Regions from separate parts of the Homo sapiens genome. Here region 1 is linked to region 2. The links are contacts of gene promoters, found by promoter capture Hi-C in blood cells and fetal thymus (Javierre and others, 2016). All regions are on one chromosome and are shown on one strand. The core of a region is centred on a gene start or on the middle of the fragment in contact, and the rest is flanking DNA. Distances in the headings are between cores, read along the strand shown.

Evidence for each region. Contacts are between HindIII fragments. The CHiCAGO score rates a contact against its expected background, and 5 or more counts as called.
Region 1: a contact is called between a fragment that was not itself captured here and the fragment with the promoter of CELF3 in region 2, in 1 of 17 cell types (M1 macrophages). The highest score is 5.1, in M1 macrophages.

The regions. Positions count from the first base shown.
Region 1 is chr1:151,845,789-151,850,027 of GRCh38, forward strand. THEM5 (thioesterase superfamily member 5) reads right to left here. Exons shown (of 6, transcript NM_182578.4): 4 at 2,394-2,504; 5 at 1,950-2,074; 6 at 1,313-1,626. The coding sequence ends at 1,583. The region is part of intron 3 of C2CD4D-AS1 (C2CD4D and THEM5 antisense RNA 1); the gene reads left to right. Among named protein-coding and RNA genes, the nearest start is that of THEM5, 5.8 kb to the right of the region's middle. RefSeq lists an enhancer at 2,136-2,903. The HindIII fragment of the contact is 1,470 bases long and covers 2,009-3,478 here.
Region 2 is chr1:151,714,924-151,719,572 of GRCh38, forward strand. It overlaps CELF3 (CUGBP Elav-like family member 3), which reads right to left and starts at 1,880. Exons shown (of 13, transcript NM_007185.7): 1 at 953-1,880. The coding sequence starts at 1,097. It also overlaps a transcript of RIIAD1 not described here. RefSeq lists an enhancer at 1,810-2,104. The HindIII fragment of the contact is 2,919 bases long and covers 1-2,765 here.

The DNA of each region.
Region 1 (4,239 bases), core at 1,494-3,993, 130 kb after region 2:
TGATCTCGGCTCACTGCAACCTCCGCCTCTCGGGTTCAAGTGATTCTCCTGCCTCAGCCTCCTGAGTAGCTGGGATTACAGGCATGCGCCACCACACCCGGCTAATTTTTTGTGTTTTTAGTAGAGATAGGGTTTCTCCATGTTGGTCAGGCTGGTCTCGAACTCCCGACCAGCCTCTCGACTCTCGAATCACTCAAGTGATCAGCCCGCATCGGCCTCCCAAAGTGCTGGGATTACAGGCATGAGCCACCGTGTCCGGCCTCATGTCACATTTTATATTGGCTCACGATTTGAGTCAGTAGCTTATCTCTCCAAGCTCCATATCACAATATCCACGTTCCTGCTGGCACTTGCCACATGGTACAAGTTCCATGGGCACTTCAAGCTCGATGCATGTAAAACTGAGCTCATTGTTTACCCCCACCTCTTTCTGTATTTCCAGTGATAACCACCTGGAAACTCATAAGCCAGAAACTTGGAGCTCGTCTTCACAGATCCACATTGTATAACTAGTGGCACAGTCCTGCACTTCCTGTATTTGTAACATTTTCTCATATCTCTCAGCTTCGCAGCTCTGACCCCTGCAGGCCCTTACTGTCTCTAGTGTAAAGCCTGTGGGGATCTCCTAACTAGTACTCCTGCCTTCAGTCTTGCTGACGCCTTACTGCCACTGAGTCATCTTTCTAAATAACAAAGCTCTGTCACTCCCCAGCCCAAGCCCTTTGGAGGCTCCCTGTTGCCTGCAAGACAAAGTTCCAGCTCTCCATCAGGGATTATGAAGCCTTCCTGTGGTTTGCTCCTGCCCACCTTCTCTTTCCCTAAACGCCTGCCCTCCTCAACACCTTGCTCTTCTCCAAAGTCCCTGTACACTTTCACACCTCTGCACCTTTGTCTTACTTCTTACTTCCCTTCTGCCTGGGATATCCTCCTCTCCCCTGCCTGCCTAATGAACACCACTTAACTTTTGAGACAGTTCAGGAAGAGCTTCTTCTAGAAGATGTTTTCTGATTGCTTTTGTAGAGTAAAATTAGCCCTTCCTCCCGCTGAGATGACACTGCACTCATGATGGAAGCCAGGGTGGGTGTGGGAGGAGCGTGATAGGGCACTCTGACTTGGCACCTGGCTCCCGCATTGTGCATCTTGAGACCGGGGCCCTGTCTTTCACTTCTGGGTGCCTGGTGCCTCACACAGTGCCTGACACCTGGCGGGTACTCAGTAAATCTTTTCAGTCGGTGCTGAATGGGAAGGTGGGTATGTGAGATGCCCTGGAAGGATTTTGATTTCCAACCACAGAAAGGCCCTGGGCCGAGAATGGGACTGTGAGACTTTATTTACTCAGAGAAAAGGGTCCTTTCCCTCGCCTCACCAATTGCTGCTTGAGGACCCCTCCCTGCTCTTTGATGGGTCCCAGGCAGGCAGGGGAGGCAGGAGGCAGGAGGCAGGCAGGGGAGGCAGGAGGCAGGAGGCAGGCAGGGGAGGCAGGAGGCAGGCAGGGGAGGCAGGAGGCAGGAGGCAGGCAGGGGAGGCAGGAGGCAGGAGGCAGGCAGGGGAGGCAGTGGCTCTCCTGCAGGCACAGTGACTGTTACTGGGGAGACTCTTCTTCCAACTGCAGCTGAAGGAAAACACCTGCAAGAGAAGGGTGAGTTGAGCTGCAAGAGCTGCACTGAGATGGCTGGAGCTTGATGGACACTCTGAGCATTTGGCTGCAAATTACCCATTACCTGGGTCCTGTCCTTTCGTTACAGGTTGGATAACTCATATATAGAAAAAAAAATCCTAGTTCTGCTCTCCCTTGCTTCATCTGTGTCCCTAGTAGGTGCCCTATCCCACCCCTAAAGAAGCTGGACCGCAGCTTGGGATGAATCATTGGCATCTTTTCTTCCTCCTGTTTGTTCTGGGGGTGGGTGGTGGTGGGACGGGGCCTGGGGCTGGGCTGGGGGCTCCTTTACCTGAGGACTTGGCATAAACTGTCTGCTGGTCTCTGCTGTGGGCGATGCAGGACATGTAAAGCTTCTGGTCCTCAATCTTGTCCAGTTCTACGTCCATTACAACCAGAGAGTCCACGGGGATCAAGCTGGGAGACGAGGCAGCTTAGCCCATCTCTCATGTGAACCCGGTTCCCCATCCCTTCACTCTCTGTGTCCTCTTCCCTCTCTTCATCCCTCCCGGCCTCGAGGACTCAGAAGTGGCCCTGGGCTCAGGGCCTTTTTGTCAGCTCCCAAAGTTGGACAGCAGAGGCTGTGTCCTGGCCAGGGACTAGAGGAATTGCTTGGGAGTGGGCTGGGGAAGGAGAGTGGCAGGCAGGGCTCCTACACCCCAGCTGCCGAGGATGGCCACTTCCAGGGATGAAAAGGTCTGTGACTTTGGCCAATGCCCCAGGGGCCCATACTTACTTTTTGAACCTGATGTTGAGACTTAGTGTGAACAGCCCCTCTCCAGCCAGGAAGGCAGTTTTAGAAAAGGTCTCGTCCATCATGGCTGCCAGGGACCCGCCGTGAGCAAACCTGGGGGTGGGGTAAGGTGAGGAGCAAGGCCTGGGCTGGGGCTGCTGGGCAGACCCCCTCAATGGGCCTTCCCTCCCTCCTGTGGTGATCCTACCTTTCCCTTTCCCTAGACCCTTCCAAACACAGACGTTCAGCCTCAGGGCAGCCAAATAGGAAAGAAGGAAACAGCTGCATCCCATCTGATCAAACCCGTCAAAATCAACTGAGCTTTTCTGTTTTGCTTCAGCATGCGTTTGCAGCCAATGATACAACATTTTATTTCATCAGGGAAATTGTTTTTTTCTGATAAAGTTAATAGAAAACATTTTTCTGGTTCATTACCTAATTGCTGGCAATAATTGCCATAATTTGGAAGGATGGGCATATACAGGAAATGAAAAAGTCCCTGAACTTTTTGACTCAGTCTTTGAGGCACAACCCTGGGCTGTTTCTCACCTTACCAGTCACTACAGCCAGTGCGGGGCCCACATCTCAAGATAAGTAAATGTGAAACATAACTTATGACCTATCAAGGGCTGGCATGACACACTTCTGAGCAGCGTTGCCACAGAAAGCAGAGCGCCTGCTTCAGCAGGCTCAATGCTGAAATTGAGCTGAAATGCTCAAATGCCGCAGACATTTGCTTTATTTAGAATGCATAGAATGGCCAGTCGCAGTGGCTCACGCCTGTAATCCCAGCACTTTGGGAGGCTGAGGTGGGCAGATCACTTGATGTCAGGAGTTCGAGACCAGCTTGGCCAGTATGGTGAAACTCCGTCTCTACTAAAAAATATAAAAATTAGACGGGTGTGGTGGCAAGCGCCTGTAACTCAGCTACTCGAGAGGCTGAGACATGAGAATCGATTGAACCCGGTGGGTGGAGGTTGCAGTGAGCTGAGATTGTGCCACTGCATTCCAGCCTGGGCAACAGATCAAGACTGTCTCAAAATTAAAAAAAAAAAAAAAAGCGTAAAATGTTCATTCTTGCTTTTGCAAGCTTTATGTCAGCTACTTCATGGTTGGCTAATTTGGGAAAATAGGCACCCATTTTAGAATTCAAATAACACCAAGCAGATTTGAGTTCCTGATTTTCAAAAGCACAGCCCATTCTCCACAGAGCCAGATCAGCTGTCCACACTGTACTGCCATGGGTTACCCTCCTGCTGCTGTGACCAGTGGCTTTTCCAGACCCTTCCCTCCCTGCTTCTTTAGTCTCTATCCACCCAGTTGGACTCCTTGTCCCACAGCTCACTACATGTTTGATCTTGAGCAAATTGCTAAACCTTTCTGAGCCTTAGTTTTTCCACCATGAATTTCACAATTCTGATCTCAGCAGATTAAATAAACAAATGTTTGCAAACATAATTTACACACTTCTTAGGCACTTCCCTGTCTGCCTCCCAAATTGCTTGAAAGAGAGTGAAAAGAGTTGGTGTCAAAGAACTCGAAACCAACTCTCTCCTCCTTGTCCTCACTGGCCAGCCTGGGGACCCATTGGCCAGTATGTGGATCTACAGAGTAGCTCTTGGCCAACGAGTAACTCCTCCTTCCCACTCCCCATGGTCTAGGGGCCTGGTGGATACTAATCTCTTCTCTAGACCCCCAACCCCTCAATCCACTGACTGGCCTTAGTGTTGGATGGTCCTCCTCTGCCTCTTTGGCCTCACTTCCATCAGCCCCTAAATAAAAGTCAGCCATGCTTCAGAAAGGAGGGAGTCCATGGCCTGGGCAGGGCTCTGAGCAATTCACTAGTATC
Region 2 (4,649 bases), core at 630-3,129:
GTGTAGGGAGAGAAGGACCATGTGACCGCCAGACAAGTAAGAGTAGTGTGGCTTTCTCTCCTGCTGAGCTGTTCTCCTTTCCCCTCTCTCCCTCACCTCCACCTCCCTCCATCTTGATCACCATCATCCCTCTCTTCTCCCATTTTCCCTATTTCCTCATCTCTCCCCACCTCCACCATAGGCAGGTGGAGGACGGAGAGTGAAATAGAGAAGGGAAGGGAAGAACAGTTAGTTAGCCGGAAGTGCCTCTTCCCTGTGCCAGGTGGAGGGGGAGCTGGTGTGGCCCCTGGGATCCCCGGTGTGTGGAGCTCTCCAAGTGCTGACCCTGACCGCCCCCACTTAGCCGCACAGCCCTTGGATAGGCCTGAGGAGCACCCTCCCTTCTCCCCCACTCTCTTAACTTTCTAAGCCTCCCACACTTTCCAGATCTTTACCAATCTCCAGCCTTCATGCCCTGCTTCCTAGTCCCTCTCTTTAGTCCTGGAGCTGCCCTGCCCAGTCCAGCTCCACGCTTTCCACATTGAACACCTGACCCTGTGTCCTGACCCCCATCCCAATATTATCTGAGGCTGCTCAGATTCTCAGTCTTGCTGCACACGCACACACACACACACCCCTACCCAGCTGCTTATCTCCCAAACCAGCTCTCTTGTCCCTCCATTCTTTCTTGAGTTCATCCCATGACATCAACACACCCATATGTCTGGGATCCACATCTTTGCAGCCGTCTTGACAACTCTTCAGCCAAAAGAGGCCCTCCTTAGTCCTTCACCGGGGTTTCCTGATCACTCTAGCTGAGTTCTTTTTCAGCTCCTCCATCCACTTTCCTCAGGCCTGAACTCTTCTCCTTCCACATCAGCCCTTCCCAGCCGCTCCACCCCTCCAGCCTGGCTTAACTTCCCCCAGCCTCCCAGCCCACCCCGAAGCCTCTTCAGCCTGCCCGACCCCTCACCCTTGTGCAGCCCGGTGTACTTGTCCTTGATGACAGTCAGCTCAAAGATCCGACCAAACTGTTCGAAGATGGGCTTCAGGTCCTTCTCCTCCAGATGCCTCGGGATCTGCCCCACAAACAGCTTGATGGCATCCGGCTCCTTCATTGAGGCGGCCCAGGAGGAGGGGCCGAGGGGAGCAGGGAGAGGCCCAAAGGCCAAGGGGAGCTGCCCAGCAAGGAGATAAGTGGTGGGGCCCGGGGGCCCAGCTGGGGCTGGCTTTCCCTTTGGCCCCCAACCACGCTGCTAAGCAGAGGGGCGGCTCTTCACACAAAGGAGGCCCAGGGAGTTGAGTGCTAGGGGTCAGGGGTCTAGGCAGACGCTGTCATGCCACCAGGGGGCATCGCCTAAACAAACGATCTCCCTCCCAGAGATCTGGCAAATGTCCCAGGATGGGGGTGAGTATGGCCAAGACCTGGAGGGTTAGGTGGTAGCCGGGGGTGCTAGGGCTTAGAGGGCTGGGAACTGGGAGTTGAGATGAGAGCTGGAGGCGGGGAAAGGGCCTGAGGAGGGTGATGGGGAGGAGACTGAGGGGTTAAGGGGCCTGCTATGGTTGCCAGCAGCGTCAGTAAGGGGGGCCCACTCCTGATGTGGGGCAGGTGAATCTCTCGTTGGCTTCCCTGGGAGGACACCTCCCCTGTGGCGGATCCTTCTGCTGGGTCCGAAGATCCCTGATGCCAGATGCTTGATCTCTGATGGCGGCAGGGCTCCAGGGGTCCCTTTTGCCCTGCCGCCCCCCTTCAGGTCCTCCCCTCAGCCCCCCTCCCACCCCCACCCCAGTCCCCGGGCCTGGGCTGCTGCCGGCTGCTCCCGCCGCTGGGGCTGCCTGCTTTCCCGGTCACCTGGGTCCCGGAGCTCTGCTCTCCGGCCGCGCTCTCCTCAACAAAAACCTCCCCCCTCCACACCCCCCTCCCCACTCCCACCTCCTTTCCCCTGACATCAGTGATGTCAGTCTCAGGGGTCGAATACAAATTCTCTACCCTGGAGAGGGACGCACAATCCAGGCACGAGCCACGCCCTCTTTCTATCTCCATCCTCCCTGACTCCCTTCCCGCCCCCAGAAGAGCAGCTGGTCCTGTTGATAATAACCCTTCCCCCATCTTACTCCCCAGTCAGGAGTTGGGCAAAGCACTAAGATGGAGAATTTATAGAGGAACCCTAAAGTGGGGTCCATTGTTCCGGGGGCTGGAGCTGTCCCCGGTGCTGGAAGACTCAGCAGATGGGGGGTGGCGGGGAAAGAGGGGAGCCCGGCATCTGGGGAGCCCCAAGAGTAGAGAGTCAAGGAAAGAAATCAGGGGAAAGAAAAATGAGAAAGGACGGTTGCATAGGCTGAAGGGAAAGGAGATATAGATGGAGAGGGAAGCAGGTCGCAGAGTCTGGGGGAAAAAGAAAAAATGCAGAGAGGAAAAATGGAAAGGGACGTGGAGAAGGAGGAGCAGGATGAGAAGAATGCAGAAAGAGAACTGTATATTTTCCAGAAAAGGAACCAAGAAAAACGATAGCTTTCTGGCATTTGCCGATGCCCCCTTCTCTCCCTCTGGGGGGTTTGTGTGTATAAGTGCGTGGGCAGGGAGGCCGCGGAGGCGGCGCCGCGGGCGCTCTCACTTGTAAGCTCCTTGAAGACCAGGACACCGTTTAATTCAGCATCTTACTGTTCACAGTGTCTAGCACCCTGTCTTGCTCATGCGTAGCAGGAGCTTAACAAACACTCCATGCAAACAACCTCTGACAACAGTGGATTCCTGATTCCTTCAGTGGGAAGAACCACAGCTGTCAAGCTTCCCCTTAGGATGCAGAAACCCAATTACTCTTTCCTTTGCTTCTTTCTTCAGTTGGGTTCTTTGAGTTGGACTCAAATTGAGCCAGGTAGCACAGAAGAGCAGGGGAGGCACATTCGGGGACCATTGCTCCCCTGACCATGGATACTTCTATGGATGATTGGCAGGCTCCACGATCTGGAGGGAGCGTGACCCCTCCATGCACTGGGCCCACTCAGAGCACGCCCTCAGTGCAGGGATTATCTGTGGACATCAAACCTTGTCAGTGGTGGTAGCCCTTGCTTTCTGTCAGTGCTCAGCAACGGGGGCTCTCCTGGGGCTCTGGGCTTTTGTAGAGCACCCTGTCTTCCTGTCATTCCCTTCTTCTCCCCCGGGGTAGGGCTGCTGTTTCCACAGAGGCACTCGTGTCTCTAAACTGTGTCCCAGCTGAGTCCCAGGGGCCTCCATTCCTGAGCTATCACGGCAGGCAGGCTTCTCTTCTGGAAGGGAAATAATAGTAACAGCCAGTGCTTACATGGCTCTTACAGTGTCCCAGGCTTTGTGCCAAGTGCTTTATATTTACTAACTCCTAAACCCTCACCACCCCCCTATGATGTAGATTTTGTCATCTCCAAATAGAGAGGAGGTAACCAAGACACAGAGCTGAAATAACTTGCCTAAAGCCATGCAGCTAGAAAGAGGTCTAGCTGAGACTGGAGCCTGGGCAGTCTGGCTCCTGAGTCCACGCATTTAACTCCCACATCAAACATTCCTCTTGAGAATGGGAGCAGTGGTGAAGTCTGGCCTTTCTTCCTCTTCTGTCTCCATTTAAGCCCTGGATGAGAGAGAGTCTTTCTTTTTACTGCTTGATTCTGTGGACCACCTCCCATCCTTCCTTAGCCTGTTTTTTTGTTGTGGCCTGGAGCCACGCTCTGGCAGGTGCTTGCATTTGAGTGAATGTGTATGTGTGTAGACTTGATTACACTTCATCACATGGATGCCCGGGTCCCCCAAGTAGGGTCCCCTAAGATGGGGTGGCAGTGGGGGGAGGTGCTAGAGGACTCAGTGGTGGGTGCTCAGAAGAAGCGAATGACGGCAGAGCCAGGGAATCAAGAAGGGCACACACATCTTGAAAGTAACTTTCCACTCACCTACCCCACCCCCACTGCTCCTTTCCTTGCCTTCTAATCTGATCTTGGTATTTATGGAGATGCTAAACAGATCATGTCCTCTGAGGATGGAGAAGGGGAAGACCCTATGGCCCTGTTGATCTCATTACTCTATGTCTTCTCAGCAGATCTGCCGCCCTGCTGCTCATTCAGGCTTGGGGCTAATCATATTAATTGAAATATTAAACATTCACAAAAATGAATTAAAATGAACTCCCCTCACTCCTCCTCCCAGTCAGTAATTGGGGAGACAGCTGCAGACAGCAAAATGCGTCCAGTCCTTTGCTTAGTTTGTGGTCCCCAAAGGTGTCAGTCTGAGAGAAGAGGCAGGGTTTAGAGGAGAAGAGTTGTACCACTCATCAGACTCTCCTTGCTGAGTGACGGTGAACACATCTCTGGTGTTCTTTCAGGCCATGGGATGGGAGTCCTGTGAGGTAAAGGCAGGGGAGCCCTGAGACTCAGATGCCTATTCTGGAAAGTTTCTCTCTAGGAGAGAGAGAGGCTTCCAGGATACTTTCTCTGCCCACCACCCCCAAGCTCACCCTCTTTTTTATTCCTCTGCAGTCAAAGCTAGGCTGCCCTACATAAAAAGATTATTGAATTTATAAAGGGAGAGCTCTGATCCTGGCTTTAGATTCTTAGGAAATGAGAAATGCTGGATAATTGGGATATTTTTCAGAAAGGGCAAAATGTGGTGGTATGTGTGGGCAGAGTGGCTAGTCATGAAGTACTTA